Linked DNA regions of Homo sapiens: regions 2 and 3 are each linked to region 1. Evidence: promoter capture Hi-C in human tissues and cell types (Jung and others, 2019). All regions are on one chromosome and are shown on one strand. Each heading gives the region's core, a stretch centred on a gene start or on the middle of the fragment in contact. The rest is flanking DNA. Distances are from core to core; before and after follow the strand shown. Region 1 holds the start of DHRS7B (dehydrogenase/reductase 7B). Region 2 overlaps USP22 (ubiquitin specific peptidase 22). Region 3 has its middle 13 kb from the start of USP22.

Region 1 (4,940 bases), core at 1,325-3,824:
AATGGGGTCTCCCTATGTTGCCCAGGCTAGTCTCAAACTCCTGGCCTCACATGATCCTCCCACCTCAGCCTCCCAAAGCGCTCGGATTATAGGTGTGAGCCACCACCTACAGCCTCACAGGGGTCTTTAAGTAACAAGATACAAGCTCCTCCTAGTCTCAAGACCTCACACATGCCCTTCCCTCCTCCTGTTAGCTCTTTGTCCAATTTAACTCCAACTCAGTCCTTTAAGTCTCAGCTAAATATTATTTTCTTGGGAAAGCCTTCCCTGTCTCTCCTCATTTCCCCCTCCGCATGCCGGTGACTCCATTATGTATCCTCACAGCACCCTCTACTGTCCTCCACAGCATGCATCACAATCGTAATTAATATTTAGTTTTATTTATATATTTACTATCTCCCTTGCTAGATTTATAAGCAATTTAAAGACAGGGGCTTTATCTGTTTTGATCATCATTGTATCCACAACACCCAGCACAATGCTGGTACACTGTAAACGTTCAATAAGTATCTGAAGGAATGAATGAAATTTGTAGCTAAGCGCTAGGTTCTGGAGTGACATGGCATTGGATCGGCCTTTACTAGCTCTATGCCTTTGTTGTTGTTTGTTGTTGTTGTTGTTGTTGTTTGAGACAGGGTGTCACTTTTTTTTTTTTTTTTTTTTTAAGACGGAGTCTCCTCGCTCTTGTCGCCCAGGCTGGAATGCAGTGGCGGCATCTCGGCTCACTGCAACCTCTGCCTCCCAGGTTCAAGCGATTCTCCTGCCAAAGCCTCCCGAGTAGCTGGGATTACAGGCGCCCACCACCACGCCCGGCTAATTTTTGTTTGTTTGTTTGTTTTGAGACAGAGTCTCACTATGTCGCCCAGGCTGGAGTGCAGCGGCGGGATCTCGGCTCACTGCAAGCTCCGCCATCCGGAGCACGCCATTCTCCTGCCTCAGCCTCCCTAGTAGCTGGGACTACAGACGCCCGCCACCAAGCCCAGCCAATTTTTTTGAATTTTTTTAGTAGAGACGGGGTTTCACCGTGTTAGCCAGGATGGTCTCGAGGTCCTGACCTCGTGATCCGCCCGCCTTGGCCTCCCAAAGTGCTGGAAATACAGGCGTGAGCCACCGCGCCCAGCCAATTTTTGTATTTTTTAGTAGAGACGGGGTTTCACCACGTTGGCCAGGCTGGTCTCGAACTCCTGACCTCAGGTGATCCGCCCGCCTCAGCCTCCTAAAGTGCTGGGATTACATGTGTGAGCCACTGCGCCCAGCCAAGACAGGGTCTCACTTTGTCACCCAGACTTGAATGCAATGGCGTGATCTCGGCTCACTGCAGCCTGTCTCCCAGGTTCAAGCAATCCACTTGCCTCAGCCCCAACAAATAGCTGGGACTACAGGCGTGTGCTACCTTGCCTGGCTAATAGCTCTATGCCTTTGGATAAACTTCTTAACATCTCTAAGCCCATTTCTCCCTCCATAAATAAAAATTATAGTTCCTATGATTAGGGTTATTACAGGATTGAATAATTCAGTAAAGGGATTAGTACAGTGCCTGTAACATAGCAAACACTCAAAAAATATCAACTATTATTAAGGAATGGAGAAAAGGGGACATGTACATGGTAGGGAAGGCATATTCCACACCCTTGGCAAAGGCACAAACATAGCTTCCATTATGCAAACACACCGTTGCAATCGGCAACAGTGTAAGCAAGAATTCTGCTTACTAAATGTATGAGTGTGTGAAACCCAAACGTTACTTCAAAAGTAACTTCACGATTCTCCAATCACTACATGGAAGGTTTGGAAACTGAAAAAAAGAGCATTATGTGGCTACCATTTGTTGAATACCTACTATGTGCCAGACACCAGCTGAGCACCTTGCACGCGCAGTCTCATTTACGCTTCACAACAACCTTATGAGTGGGCTTGTTACTCCCAAAGTTACAGCTGAAGAAACACTCAGAGTTTAAAACATTTGCCCAAAGCCGCACAGCCAGGAAGCCGCAGAGTAAGTATTGGAAGAGCAAGATATCTCAACCAGCCATTCCCGTGGACGCTCGAGTCAGCACCCTCCTCCTGCCTTCTGAAAAACCGGACTTCCTTTGCTAGTCCTAACTCGCCGTCACTGGCTAAGGTGCCACTGGCCCCCAGCGCTCAACCCTCGGTCCTGCCACTCGCAGACGCTGCGGAGCCTCCCCTACGTCGCGCAGAAATGTGGGAATAAACAGGTTGAAGCCAGGAGCCCTGTGGGCGCGAGGCCTTTCACACACAGCGCCCGGCGCGACACCCATTCCCAGCAGCGGAAACTGGACTCAAGACACCTCGGCGACAGGCGGGTTTCCCCGCCACGCACTCGCCGGAGCCAGGGCTCTGGTCCCAGCGCCTGGGCTGAGTCTTCCTTCAGAGTTCGGCGTCGCGGGGATCCGGAAGCCGCCCAGGGCCCGCGGCCTTAGCTCGACCACTACACCGCTTCCCCTCACCCAAGCCGGGGCGTCGCCTCAGCTCAAGGCCAGACCCTATCGCCTCATCTCGGAGGTTCCTTCTTCCCCAGCCCCTACCTGGTAGCCGGAGAGACCATAGTCAATCAACTTCATCCTCCCGCCTCGGAAGTGACGTGTACGCAGCCGGCGAGGCTCCGTCCAATCCCAGCATTGAGGCTGCGCATGCGCGTTGGGTGGGCGTCCCTCAAGGTGTACACAGGACCCGATGGACCCGAGATCTGATAGGGTCCACCCGCATAACTACAGTGCCTTCATCTTCCGGAGGGAAATTCCGAAGGTCGTGGTTGGTGTTCCGTGGACTTCCGGCGAAGAACACAGTTGGAGAATTCACGATACAGTTATCAAGATGATTATAATGCCACAGTAATCAGAACAGTGTGATAACTGGCACAAAGGTAAAAACAATGAATGAAAAAGAGAGAGACCAGAAACAGACCTGCAGCTATGTAGTCACTTTTTCCTCCTACAAGTAGCCACTGTAATGCAATAAGAAGAGTTTTTTCAATATATAGTGCTAGGTCAATTGAAGGTCGATTGGGGGGAAATGAACCTTGACTCCTATCTCAAGTAAAATAATTCTAGACGGATGGTAGACCTGAATGTGAACAATACAACTCTAGACAATAAAATCGCAGAATATTATGACCATAAGAGAGGAAAATAACGTGTTAGCAGAACACAAAAAGTGCCAGTCCTAAAGGAAAAAGCTGATAAATTGGGTGTCTGTAACTATAAGACACCGAAAAGACCCCATTGAGAAAAGGGAAAGACAATAGAACAGACAAGATATTTGTAATACATATATCTGAAAATGAATTTTATTCAGAATATGTACGTACTTCTTGCAAGTAAATTTTTTAAAGGACCCGAAGTGATTTAAAAAAAAAAAAAAAGCATGAAAAGAGGATATTGAGAGAGTAAAGGGCAGAGGAAGGAAGGGGCAGGGCAGAGGAAGGAAGGGGCGGGGGGACTCTTATCGTTCAAAATCATAAGATGGCAAATGTGTGTAAGGTGGAAAATCTCCCTTTCTGTTCTCCAGGACCCACTTCACCTCCCCCTAGGTAACGATGCTATTAGCTATGTGTGTCCTTCCAGAGCCAGTTTATTCATAACCAAGCAATTATGTATGTATTCAGCACCCCCTTGTTACACAAACAATAGCATTCTGAAACGTCCTTCTGTTTCTTGCTTTTATTAACTTTAGCGAATTAATATATCCTGGAAATTCTTACAGATATTCACAAAATCTGAAAATGGGAAATTTTATTTTTAACTAAATATTTATTTTTGACGTTTTCACAAAAGTTTTTATACCTTTCTGGCCCCTCTCCATTGTTCTGGAAACTCTAGATTCCTGCTTGCCAATTCACAAAGTTTGAATATCCTTGTAGCAAACCCAATATGAACCGTAAGGCAGAAAAATAGGGTCTGGAGACAGGGAACCTAAGGCCAATTCACGCTGACTTCCTAGAACTAAATCAAAAGGAAAACCCGAACTTTCCATGCCCAGGTAACAAAAGGAACAGAAGCTAGTCCCTTTGCAACCTGCCCCGCTTTTCTGCCTGGCAGATGAAAAATTGAAGGTACCTCTGATTGGTCCCCTCTTGCAACCAATCAGGCTGATCACAGGCCACTACTTCTTTTACATAGAGTGTACACCAAGTAACCAACGGGAACCCTCTAGAGGGTATTTAAACTCCAGAAAATTCTGTAACCGGGCTCTTGAGCCACCTGCTAGGCAGGCTCCCAACCTGTGGAGTGTGCTTTTGTTTTCAATAAATCTCTGCTTTTGTTGCATCATTCTTTCCTTGCTTTGTTTGTGCGTTTTGTCCAATTGTTTGTTCAAAACGCCAAGAACCTGGACACTCTCCACTGGTAACACCTGAGTCTTTATTGCATGACTAAGTCAGTTTCCTGGGGTTCATTTCCCAGGCCTGCTACCCTCTTAGCCTACCCACTCTTCAATCCTGCATGGAATTTGTTTTAGAAGCAACTCAATATATTTCAAAGTTTTGGTAACCAATTTGAATTGCATCTGCCAAATGCAAGTGTAAAAACTCTAACTTCGCAGCCAGGATATTATACAAAAAGGATTCCAGTGGGCCGGGTGCAGTGGCTCACACCTGTAATCCAGCATTTTGGAAGGCTGAGGCAGGCGGATCACCTGAGGTCGGGAGTTTGAGATCAGCCTGGCCAACATGGGGAAACCCCATCTACTAAAAATACAAAAAAATCAGCCAGGCATGGTGTCGTTTACCTGTAGTCCCAGCTACTCAGGAGGCTGAGGAAGGAGAATCACTTGAAACCAGGAGGTGGAGGTTGCAGTGAGCAGAGATCATGCCACTGCACTCCAGCCTGGGCAACACAGCGAGACTCCATCTCAAACAAACAAACAAAACAAATAGATTCCAGTGGTTAGCACAGTTCCATGGCCTTCTATGAAAACAAGAT
Region 2 (4,940 bases), core at 1,744-4,243, 110 kb after region 1:
CCATGGTCTACCTTCCTGGCTCAGAAAGGCACGCATGTGTCACCCTCCTGTGTCCTCCTGGTATGCGAGTCTCCTCCACCGCCAGGTCTCTCTAAGCATGCCCCATCAGAGCCTCTGTCCTCATGAGCTACGCGCTGCACGTTGGCTGTTCCTGTGGGCTGCACGTGTGGCGTTCCTGTCCACTTCTGTCCCCGGCATCAGAGCATGGCAGCGTTCAGAGCAAGGCGTTCACGGCTGCCGCCTCAGCCCTCACCGGCTCCGTGACCTAGACATGCTTCTCAGAGCTGAAGCAGCTCAGTTACCTCAACTAATAAGCAGGCTGGTGCCTGTTCTTCAGGTGCCTTGCACAGGAGCCAGCCAACAGCCCTGGCCTGTTCCCATTCGTAACCTCTGCGAGAGATGCAGCCACGCCAGCTCACTCATGTCTGTCTGGTCACTGGTCGCTTTTGTGGGACAGCCACAGAGTTGAGCAGTTGGACAGAGGCTATCCAACCTGCAAAGCTGAAATTATTTACTGTCCAAGCCTTTCAAAAACAGATTGCCAGCCTCTGGTCGAGCCTAACCGATTTCCTCAAAGTACCTGCAATGTGCCATAACTGCTGGGGACACGGCCCAAATAGGAGAAAGGAGGGTGCAGCTGGGAAGTTGGTGGGTGGTTGTATCACTGACTTTAGTGATAAGCTCACTTGTGTTAGATTGTTTTTAGACTCCGGCTTGTTAAGGTGTAAATTACAGTCACACCCACCTTCTAGCCTATAGATAGATGAGTTTCGACGAATGCATAGTTGTGTAACTGCTGCTACTCAAGATGAAGAACTGTTACCTCTCCGAACTCCCTCGTGCCCCTCCGAAGTCAACCCCCAGTCCCCAGACCCTGGTAGCTGCCGATCTGTCTTCGGTCCCTTGAGTGTCCTTTACCAGCGCATCATACGGATGGATGCATGCAGGAAGTAGCCTTTCTGAATCTGGCTGTCCCTACTTAATGTAATACTGGGTGGATTCACCCGTGTCTTGCGTGCATCCATGATGTGTGCTTTCGATGTCTGAGTTGGGTTCCATTATGTAGATGGGTTATGGTTTAGTTGTCTGTTTCCCAGTTCAGACACATTTGGGTGGTCTGTGGTTTTGGGTTTTTTGATGAGAAATAAAACTGCCCTGAATTCTGTATTTGCACAGGCAAGACCCCTCTGTGGGTTCTGACCTGGGGAGGAAGCCGTGGGATGGAAGGTGTGCTGCTGGGTCTGCGGCTGGAGTTGAGCTGTTGGAGAGGACTGGCTGGCAAGCCCTCAGCTAATTGCCATTAGCCTCAGAGGCAGAGAATCCTGTGGCTGATGCTGGTGAATTCTGCATAATCACAGTGATGTGCTTCCCTTTGCGGAGGTGCTGGTGTCCATGGGCCTGAGTGGTTTGGCTAGTGCTTTGAGGAAACTAGTATTGGGCAAATCGAGTCACTTTTATTTGCATGTGATCTCATAGTAGCAAGTCATAATTCATTTTTTAGGCTTATATGTGGAAAACTAGATGGTAGAAAGGAAAAAATTCATATGAGGACTCGAAAAGTCCAGTGAGCCCAGATAAAAATAGACTTTGCAAAAAGTAGAAAAGTAAAATCCAAACATTTGTGTCAAATGAGCCACAGCCAATGGTAGGCATCTGATAAAGGTTTTGATTGTGTGTACTCTGTGTTCAGAGTCTACATTTATTCCTGACAAGGTTTCCTTCCCCGCCCTCTGGCAGTTTTACTCTGGACACCGGTCCCCTCACATCCCGTATAAGTTGCTGCACCTGGTGTGGACCCACGCGAGGCACCTAGCAGGCTACGAGCAGCAGGACGCCCACGAGTTCCTCATCGCGGCCCTGGACGTGCTCCACCGACACTGCAAAGGTGGGCCCTGGGCTCTGCACCCTCCACCAGGGCAGGATGTTTTCCTTGAAGGGGAAGGAAGCAAAGCGAGTGTATGCACTCGTGCAAAAAGGGGCACAGGTGACACATTCCATTGTTTTGTCATCATAGCCCTTGTCGTCATTTGTTTCTGAAGTCACCATAACTAATGACCTCAGAGAGGCTCCTCCTAGTTTATTTTTAAGAGGCGAGGAAGTAGTTCCAGCAGTATGACAGGTCCTCAGTGACCGATCACAGTGAACAGCAAACTCTTGGAGCCCTCTTGGGCCTGTGCTTTGAGGCCCCTGCCTGCCCTGGCATTTCTGGGACCCTGTGGGTTATCAGGCCTGAGGCTTCTGGACATCCCCCAAACACAACTTAATCACCCAACTGTCTCCTTCCCATTGGGGACTCTCCAAAAGGACTGATGGTTGCTCTGAAATAGCCAGAGAGCTGGGACACAGGACGAGCAAAGCTTCTCTTGGGGTCTCATTGGACCTGGGCCATCTCCCCCAACATAGTCCCACAGCCTGGCCCCAGGGTGGTACCCTGATGATTTTTCAGAGTTGTGTGGTGTTGGTAGTTGGCAGGGGCAGCTCTTAGCGCTGGAGGTGGGAGGCTGGGAATGAATGACTTGAGCCAAGATCGGCTCCTCCCCACTCCTCATGGTGGAGATCCCAGTGTGAGGGACCTGCAGCTGAAGTCTATCCATACAGGCAGAGAGACTGAGAGGTGATTCTCAGATGAGTGTGGGCTGGTCACTTGCAGGTCTTCCTAAAGCCCGTGCTGGCGTTTCTGATTCAGCAGATCTGTGGGGGGCAGGGGCTTCTTCACTCTTAATCAGTTCCCAGCTGATGTTGATGCCGCTGGTTCAGATGCCATACTCTGAGAACCCATGCGCTCAGGTCACAGGGCACCTGGCTGCTTGTGAGTTTCCTGTGGTCTCTGGGCTGGCACAGCTAGTTGTAGCCGATATCCTATCAGTTAATTTTAACTTGGAGTCTTTTAGAGAACAGAGTCCTGTTCTGACGGTTCACCGAGTTGAACAGCTTGGTGGGCTGGCCTTCCCATCGCTTCTCATCCGTCTCAAGGCTGTGCACCCGGGCCCTAGGCGCTTACGTACAACCTATGGGTTCTGAGATCACAGCCCAGAAACAACCCACAGTTGAGCTAAAATGGCTGGTTTTGGTCAAATGTGACTTTGGGTTCTGTTTTCTTTTGGTACTTACTTTTTTTCCTCTGAAAAACTACGTGATCCTTTTAATTCTTACCTAGAAATCAAAGGAAAGTTACTTAGTAGCTTAGGTAGAATTTCATGTCCTAGTATGATTTATAAGAGAGGAAAGAGCCACTGTGGAAGTGACTATGCTGTTACCCCAAGCACCTAGTGAGAATAACGAAGAGCCTTCTGTAAGCAGCAGAAAGATGTTCTAAAAATCACTTGTTCAAAAATGCATTGCTGTTAAATGTTCACATGACAAAATGTGACCTCTGACGTGCTTCTGACAGAATTCCCTTGGAAATGTCTGAAAAGAAATGTAAGGTTCTTCTGTTTAGAAACCTGGTTGCCAGAGCTGTTCAGCGAGGTGGCCTGGCCACATGGCCTTGGTTACGTGCATTTTGTCCTTGTGGCCTTCACGGCATCTTTCTGTTCATCTTTTGTTTTGTTTTGTTTTGTTTTTGAGTCAGAGTCTCGCTCTGTCGCCAGGCTGGAGTGCAGTGGTGCGATCTCAGCTCACTGCAACCTCCGCCTCCCAGGTTCAAGTGATTCTTCTGCCTCAGCCTCCTGAGTAGCTGGGACTACAGGCGCCCGCCACCATGCCCAGCTAATTTTTTGTATTTTTAGTAGAGACGGGGTTTCACCGTGTTAGCCAGGATGGTCTCGGTCTCCTAACCTCGTGATCCGCCCGCCTTGGCCTCCCAAAGTGCTGGGATTACAGGCGTGAGCCACCGCGCCTGGCCATTCTGTTCATCATTCTTTGCGCCTTCCTGTATGGATATTCTTGTCCTCTGAATTTTGTCCCATGAATTTGAGATCCCTCTGGGAAGCATTTTTCTCTCTAATCTTAAACCTTCTGCTCTCAGAAGACTTAGTGGCCCTTCTCTATTCCTCTGTCATGATTCAACGTCTTTGAACTGTGATGTATATACAGGTGTCCTCGTGCCCTGTCCCCACTGTCTAGTGAAGTTATGTAGAATATGTATTCCACACACGAATTAAGTTCTGCTACTTAAGTTTCTTTTTCACAGATCTGCACACATGGATATGAATGAAGTGTGTATTGAATAGAGAGGGTGGGAGTGGCACTTCCAGATGCAACTGACTGGAAGACACGCTGTCCCCTGGGGGCTCTAGCTGATGAGGACAGCCTGTGTCCTGCGGTGTCACTTTCTGAACTTGGGGCACCATGATACCTACTCAGGGAGGGAGGTTGCTGGGGCTTCCCCGGGTGTACCTGGCCCACCATATGTTCAGCTGTCTCACTGGAACAATATTGATTCAGTCATTCTTTATATGATAATGGGAATCGATTATTCTGCTCAGTCACTGGGCATTAGGTGGGTTTTCTTGGCAAGACTGAAGCTGTGGGGCTCTTGTTAGGGAATGAGAAAAAGGAGCATTGAAAATCCAAGTGCTGTGATTTCTCGTCATATTAAAATAACAAGGACACCCTCTGCTAAAATGAGGAGTGTCCTCACATGGCCTTTTAAAGCGTTGGCCCTGGCTCCCCCAGGCTTCTGCAGGGTGAACTGCTCTTCCCTTAGAGACTCCCCATATTTGGGGAGACACTAATCCCAGAGCCGTGGTCTGTCTCCAGGTGATGACAATGGGAAGAAGGCCAACAACCCCAACCACTGCAACTGCATCATAGACCAGATCTTCACAGGCGGGTTGCAGTCAGACGTCACCTGCCAAGTCTGCCAGTAAGTGAGAGGCTGCGTGCTCGGCAATATCAAACCCTCTGGGGCCGTACTGACATCCTCCCAGTCTCCAGAGCTGTGTGTGCTCTGAGAGGTCTTTAAGGAGGCTATGAGATAAATGATTAATAGACGCCAT
Region 3 (4,940 bases), core at 686-3,185, 70 kb after region 1:
ACATCTGAATATACGCAAGATATCTACCAGAAATCACTTTGGGATCTGCAGGGAAGAGAGGGCCCTGTGCACACAAAGAAATTTCAGGCCAGGCACAATGGCTCAACTTGAGTCCTGGTGTTTGAATAGCATGGGCAACACAGCAAGGTCTCGTCTCTCAAAAAACAACAAAAAAAAGCCAGGTGTGGTGGCTGTGGTTTGTGGTTCAAGCTACTCAGGAGGCTGAGGCAAGAGGATCACTTGAGCCCAGGAGGTAGAGGCTGCAGTGAGCTGTGATTGCGCCACTGCACTCCAGCTTTGGTGAAAGAATGAGATCTTGTCTCAAAAATAAATAAACAAATAATAAAGAAATTTCACAAGGCTGTCACAATTGACACGAAACCAAATGCAATGTGAGAGCCTTGGTTGGATTTTGAATGGAAACTAATAACAGCTATAGGAGACCCTTTGGTACAATTAGGGGGAAATCTGAATATGGATTATGAAATGCATTGTATATGAGGCAATGCGTATAGGGGAATGTATTGTATTGAAGTTAAATTTCCAGTATATGATCATTGCACCATGGTTTTGCAGAAGAAACTAGTTCTTCTAGCTTGTCTGCAAGTAACTCAAAGTGTGTCTGTAAGTAACTCAAACACAAAATTTAAATTAAAAATATACGTGGAGAGATAAGGTAAAGTGGTAAGAAAACTGGATTAAAAACGTATCGCTAACTAGAGAATCTAGATGAAGTGTCTATGGGTGCTCACTGCATAATTCTTATGACTTCTCTTTAGGTTAGAAAATAGTCAAAAATAAAGTAGAATTGGGGAGTTTGGTTAGAAGCTTATATGTGTAGGGTCTCCCAGTTTCTCCCACTTTCTTTCTGAGACACAGAGAGCACCTTGGCCACTCTGTGATCTGGCTGGCTGCATGCTTCCGCTGTGGGCTGGAACCTGAGCTGGGGCCCTGAACATTCCCAGGCACTGATAAACTTGCTTATGTTGTTGTCCAAAACACTTCAAGATCAAACATCTTGCTAAACATGTAGCAACTGACACCTTCCCCACGCCCCTCTCCAAGGGCTCCTCTCCGGGGGGCACCCATTTCCCTGAAGGCCACCTGAGGCCTGTGACAGCCCTATGTATGTAAGCGCCCTAATGCATGCTTTGCACTGGTCACCCTGGCGTTTGGTGCTTCTTTCTTTGGAATCCCATCCAGGGCTGGTCTGGGGTACCAGACCAGGGAACAAGGGAACAGGGGAACAAGGGTACCAGACAAGGGAACATCCTTGCCGCAACCCTAGCTGTGGGTTCAGCTGAGAGGATGCAATTTCTGACAAGATGACCATAAGTTGGTCACCCTTTCAGTTGGGTGGCTGGTGCTTATTTGAGGCTTCAGTGTGATATTCATTCTAACATTCCATAGAACAGTTTTTTAAAGGCTGAACATCTGGGCTGGGCACGGTGGCTCATGCCTGTAATCCCAGCACTTTGGGAGGCCGAGGTGGGCGGATCACGAGGTCAGGAGATCGAGACCATCCTGGCTAACACGGTGAAACCCCATCTCTACTAAATATACAAAAAATTAGCCAGGCGTGGTGGCGGGTGCCTGTAGTCCCAGCTACTCGGGAGGCTGAGGCAGGAGATTGGCGTGAACCCGGGAGGCGGAGCTTGCAGTGAGCCAAGATCGCGCCACTGCACTCCAGCTTGGGCGACAGAGCAAGACTCCGTCTCAAAAAAAAAAAAAAAAAAAGGCTGCACATCTGAAAAGAGATCTAAACGTGCATTTTTATAATAAGGGGGCTCTCCTTCAGCATCAGTTCAAAAGTTCAAAGGGGAGGGTGTTACTGAATGTCTCTACAGGAGTCACATGAGTTATTCACGGGAATAACACATTAGGGAACATTTTTGAGGTTTTTTTTTTTTTTTTTGGAGATGGTATTTCACTCTGTCACACAGGCTGGAGTGCAGTGGCGCGATCTCGGCTCACTACAGCCTCTGCCCTCTGGGTTCAAGCAATTCTCCTGCCTCAGCCTCCCAAGTAGCTGGGATTACAAGCACACGCCACCATGCCTGGCTAATTTTTTTGTATTTTTAGTAGAGGTGGGATTTCACTGTGTTGTCCAGGCTGGTCTCGACCTCCTGAGCTCAGGCAATCCACCTGCCTCAGTCTCCCAAAGTGCTAGGATTACAGGTGTGAGCCACCGTGCCCGGCCACATTTTTGAGTTTTAAACTTTTAGAAAACATGATGTAAAGTTCTGTGATGACAGAGGGGCAATTTTTCTCTTTGTTCTCTACTCTGTGGATGTAAAAATCCATTCCTGTATATTTGTTAGGCTATAAATGTACCATTTCCAGGACGGTAATACAACCTAACAGGGACAAACCTGTAGTCCCAAAACAATGGATTTCTTAGCATCCTTGCAGCAAGAGTGATCACTTACCTGAGGAACCTGGTGTCCTCTTCAAACAAAGGTAGAGGAAGGGTTTGTTTGTTTGTTTGTTTGTTTGTTTTTTGAGACGGAGTCTAGCTCTGTCTCCCAGGCTGGAGTGCAGTGGTGCGATCTCTGCTCACTGCAAGCTTCGCCTCCTGGGCTCACGCCATTCTGCCTCAGCCTCCCGAGTAGCTGGGACTACAGGCGCCCGCCACCATTCCCGGCTAATTTTTTGTATTTTAGTAGAGGGGTTTCACCGTGTTAGCCAGGATGGTCTCGATCTCCTGACCTCATGATCCACCCGCCTCAGCCTTCCAAAGTGCTGGGATTACAGGCATGAGCCACTGCGCCTGGCCACATAGAGGCAGGGTTCTTACAGGATCTGGAGGAGGGTGGAGGTTAGGTACAATATAAATGAATCAGTGTTGTGGATAGGCGTGAAGCAAGCAGGATTATGTGTGTAAAGCTATAAAGGGGTTAACATCAGAAGCCGACCCAGGGTCCTGTTCCCTTAGAAACTACAAAGTTAAAATAAATGTAGGATGTTGTGCTTAAAAAGCTCCTTTGTTTGTTTGTTTGTTTGTTTGTTTGTTTTTGAGACCGAGTCTTGCTCTGTTGCCCAGGCTGGAGTGCAGTGGTGCCATCTCAGCTCACTACCAGCTCTGCCTCCTGGGTTCCCACCATTCTCCTGCCTCAGCCTCCTGAGTAGCTGGGACTACAGGCGCCCGCCACCACACCCGGCTAATTTTTTGTATTTTTAGTAGAGAAGGGGTTTCACCGTGTTAGCCGGAATGGTCTTGATCTCCTGACCTCGTGATCCGCCCACGTCAGCCTCCCAAAGTTAAAAAGCTCTTTTCTAAAAAAAAAAAAAAAAAAAAAAAAAGAAAGAAAGAAGAGAAAAATCCTGTTTCAGCTGGAAATTGAGGCTGCTTCTTTGTGTCAAAGAATGTTCCAGTCTCACTAACATGGTTTCAAACAGCAAAGTTTCTGACAGTCCGTGATTTTACAGAACAAGGTTCTCTAAAATCTATAGTTTACATTTTCTATAGGTTGACAATCACAGAGGAGGACTGTGGCTAAGAGACACTCCTGCAGGTCATCACGGTGAGACGGGGAAGGAGGACTCCCAGGTGGACAGGATAAGATAAAGATGGTTCTGAAGCTGTAGGTGGCACTGTGCCCAGGGCATTTTGGGATCCAGTTCAAGCTGTGGTCCTAGGGTCATCCTCACACCTCCCTTCACAGTGTGGCCCTCACTCCTTCAGTCTGGATGCCTCCGGGTACCCTGTTTACCCTTCAAGGCTCTCAATCTTAAGTGGTGTCTGTGTTGATAGACAAGCCAGGCTCTCCCATGGTGATGGCAGTCTTGGTGAGGTTGTATGGGGTGTCCATGAGTGGGTGATTCTCATAATGAGCTGCACGAACCCCCATATGGTGAGGTTGCACTGTATGGTGAAGGGGGGTCCAGGGATTTTCACAGCTGGCCTATGTGGTGGAAAGCAGTCACTGTCCTCTGGATTTCCAACGGGAAAGGATGTGTTGCTGTGGGATCCAGGGTTGGCCTGGCAGGCCCTTAGTAACGTGAAAAGAAATTGGACTAGAAGAGAGGTTTTGTTTTGTTTTGAGCTAGAGTCTCACTCTGTCGCCCAGGCTGGAGTGCAGTGGTGAGATCTCGGCTCACTGCAGCCTCTGCCTCCTGAGTTCAAGCGATTCTCCCACCTCAGCCTCCCGAGTAGTTGGGACTACAGGTGCCCGCCACCACACCCAGCTAATTTTTTTGTAGAGACAGGGTTTCACCAGGTTGGCCAGGCTGGTCTTGAACTCTTGACCTCAAGTGATCCGCCATCCTCGGCTTCCCAAAGTGCTGGGATTACAGGCGTGAGCCAACGCACCCAGCCAGAAGAGAGGTTTTGAAGGATCACCCAGAACCTGCATGGAAAGCCCCACAGCCTCCCTGCAGAGGACTGCCTGGGATCCAAAGCCAAAGTCGGTGACTTTGCTTTACATCTTCACCTGACAACTGGAAGGACCCAGGCCGTTTGCAGTCTGTGTGGCTGAGGTTGAACCCAACTATGAACTGAGCTCTGCCTGGGTTCTGGTTTGAGAACTAGAGGGACTGAGCTGACCACTAGCTATGGTTATTATGTCAGTGATCCCATAACTTCAAGTGGGGAGTGGCCACATGGCCCAGGTCTCTGGATCAGTCGTGCATGTGACCTATCCCTTCTGTCCACCCACCCAAGCTGACACGCTCTTAAGATATGCAAATGTTGGCCCAGCGCGGTGGCTCATACCTGCAATCCCAGCACTGTGGGAGGCCGAGGCGGGTGGATCACGAGGTCAGGAAATCGAGACCATCCTGGCTAACATGGTGAAACCCCGTCTCTACTAAAAATACAAAAAAAAAAAAATTAGCCAGGCGTGGTGGTGGGTGCCTGTAGTCCCAGCTACTCGGGACGCTGAGGCAGGAGAATGGCATGAACCCGGGAGGCAGAGCTTGCAGTGAGCCGAGATCGCGCC

Evidence for each region. Contacts are between HindIII fragments. The study calls those that stand out against the background at their distance.
Region 2: a fragment that was not itself captured here is called in contact with the fragment with the promoter of DHRS7B in region 1 in 2 of the 25 tissues and cell types used here (IMR-90 fibroblasts and heart right ventricle).
Region 3: a contact is called between a fragment that was not itself captured here and the fragment with the promoter of DHRS7B in region 1, in 2 of the 25 tissues and cell types used here (dorsolateral prefrontal cortex and lymphoblastoid cells).

Annotation. Positions count from the first base shown.
Region 1 is chr17:21,124,598-21,129,537 of GRCh38, reverse strand. DHRS7B (dehydrogenase/reductase 7B) reads right to left here and starts at 2,574. Exons shown (of 7, transcript NM_015510.5): 1 at 2,547-2,574. The coding sequence starts at 2,566. RefSeq lists an enhancer at 2,253-2,912. The HindIII fragment of the contact is 17,830 bases long and covers 1-4,940 here.
Region 2 is chr17:21,012,697-21,017,636 of GRCh38, reverse strand. It overlaps USP22 (ubiquitin specific peptidase 22), which reads left to right. Exons shown (of 13, transcript NM_015276.2): 6 at 1,738-1,885; 7 at 4,702-4,807. Among named protein-coding and RNA genes, the nearest start is that of USP22, 28 kb to the left of the region's middle. The HindIII fragment of the contact is 7,119 bases long and covers 1-4,940 here.
Region 3 is chr17:21,053,582-21,058,521 of GRCh38, reverse strand. No RefSeq gene overlaps it. Among named protein-coding and RNA genes, the nearest start is that of USP22, 13 kb to the right of the region's middle. The HindIII fragment of the contact is 4,660 bases long and covers 1-4,265 here.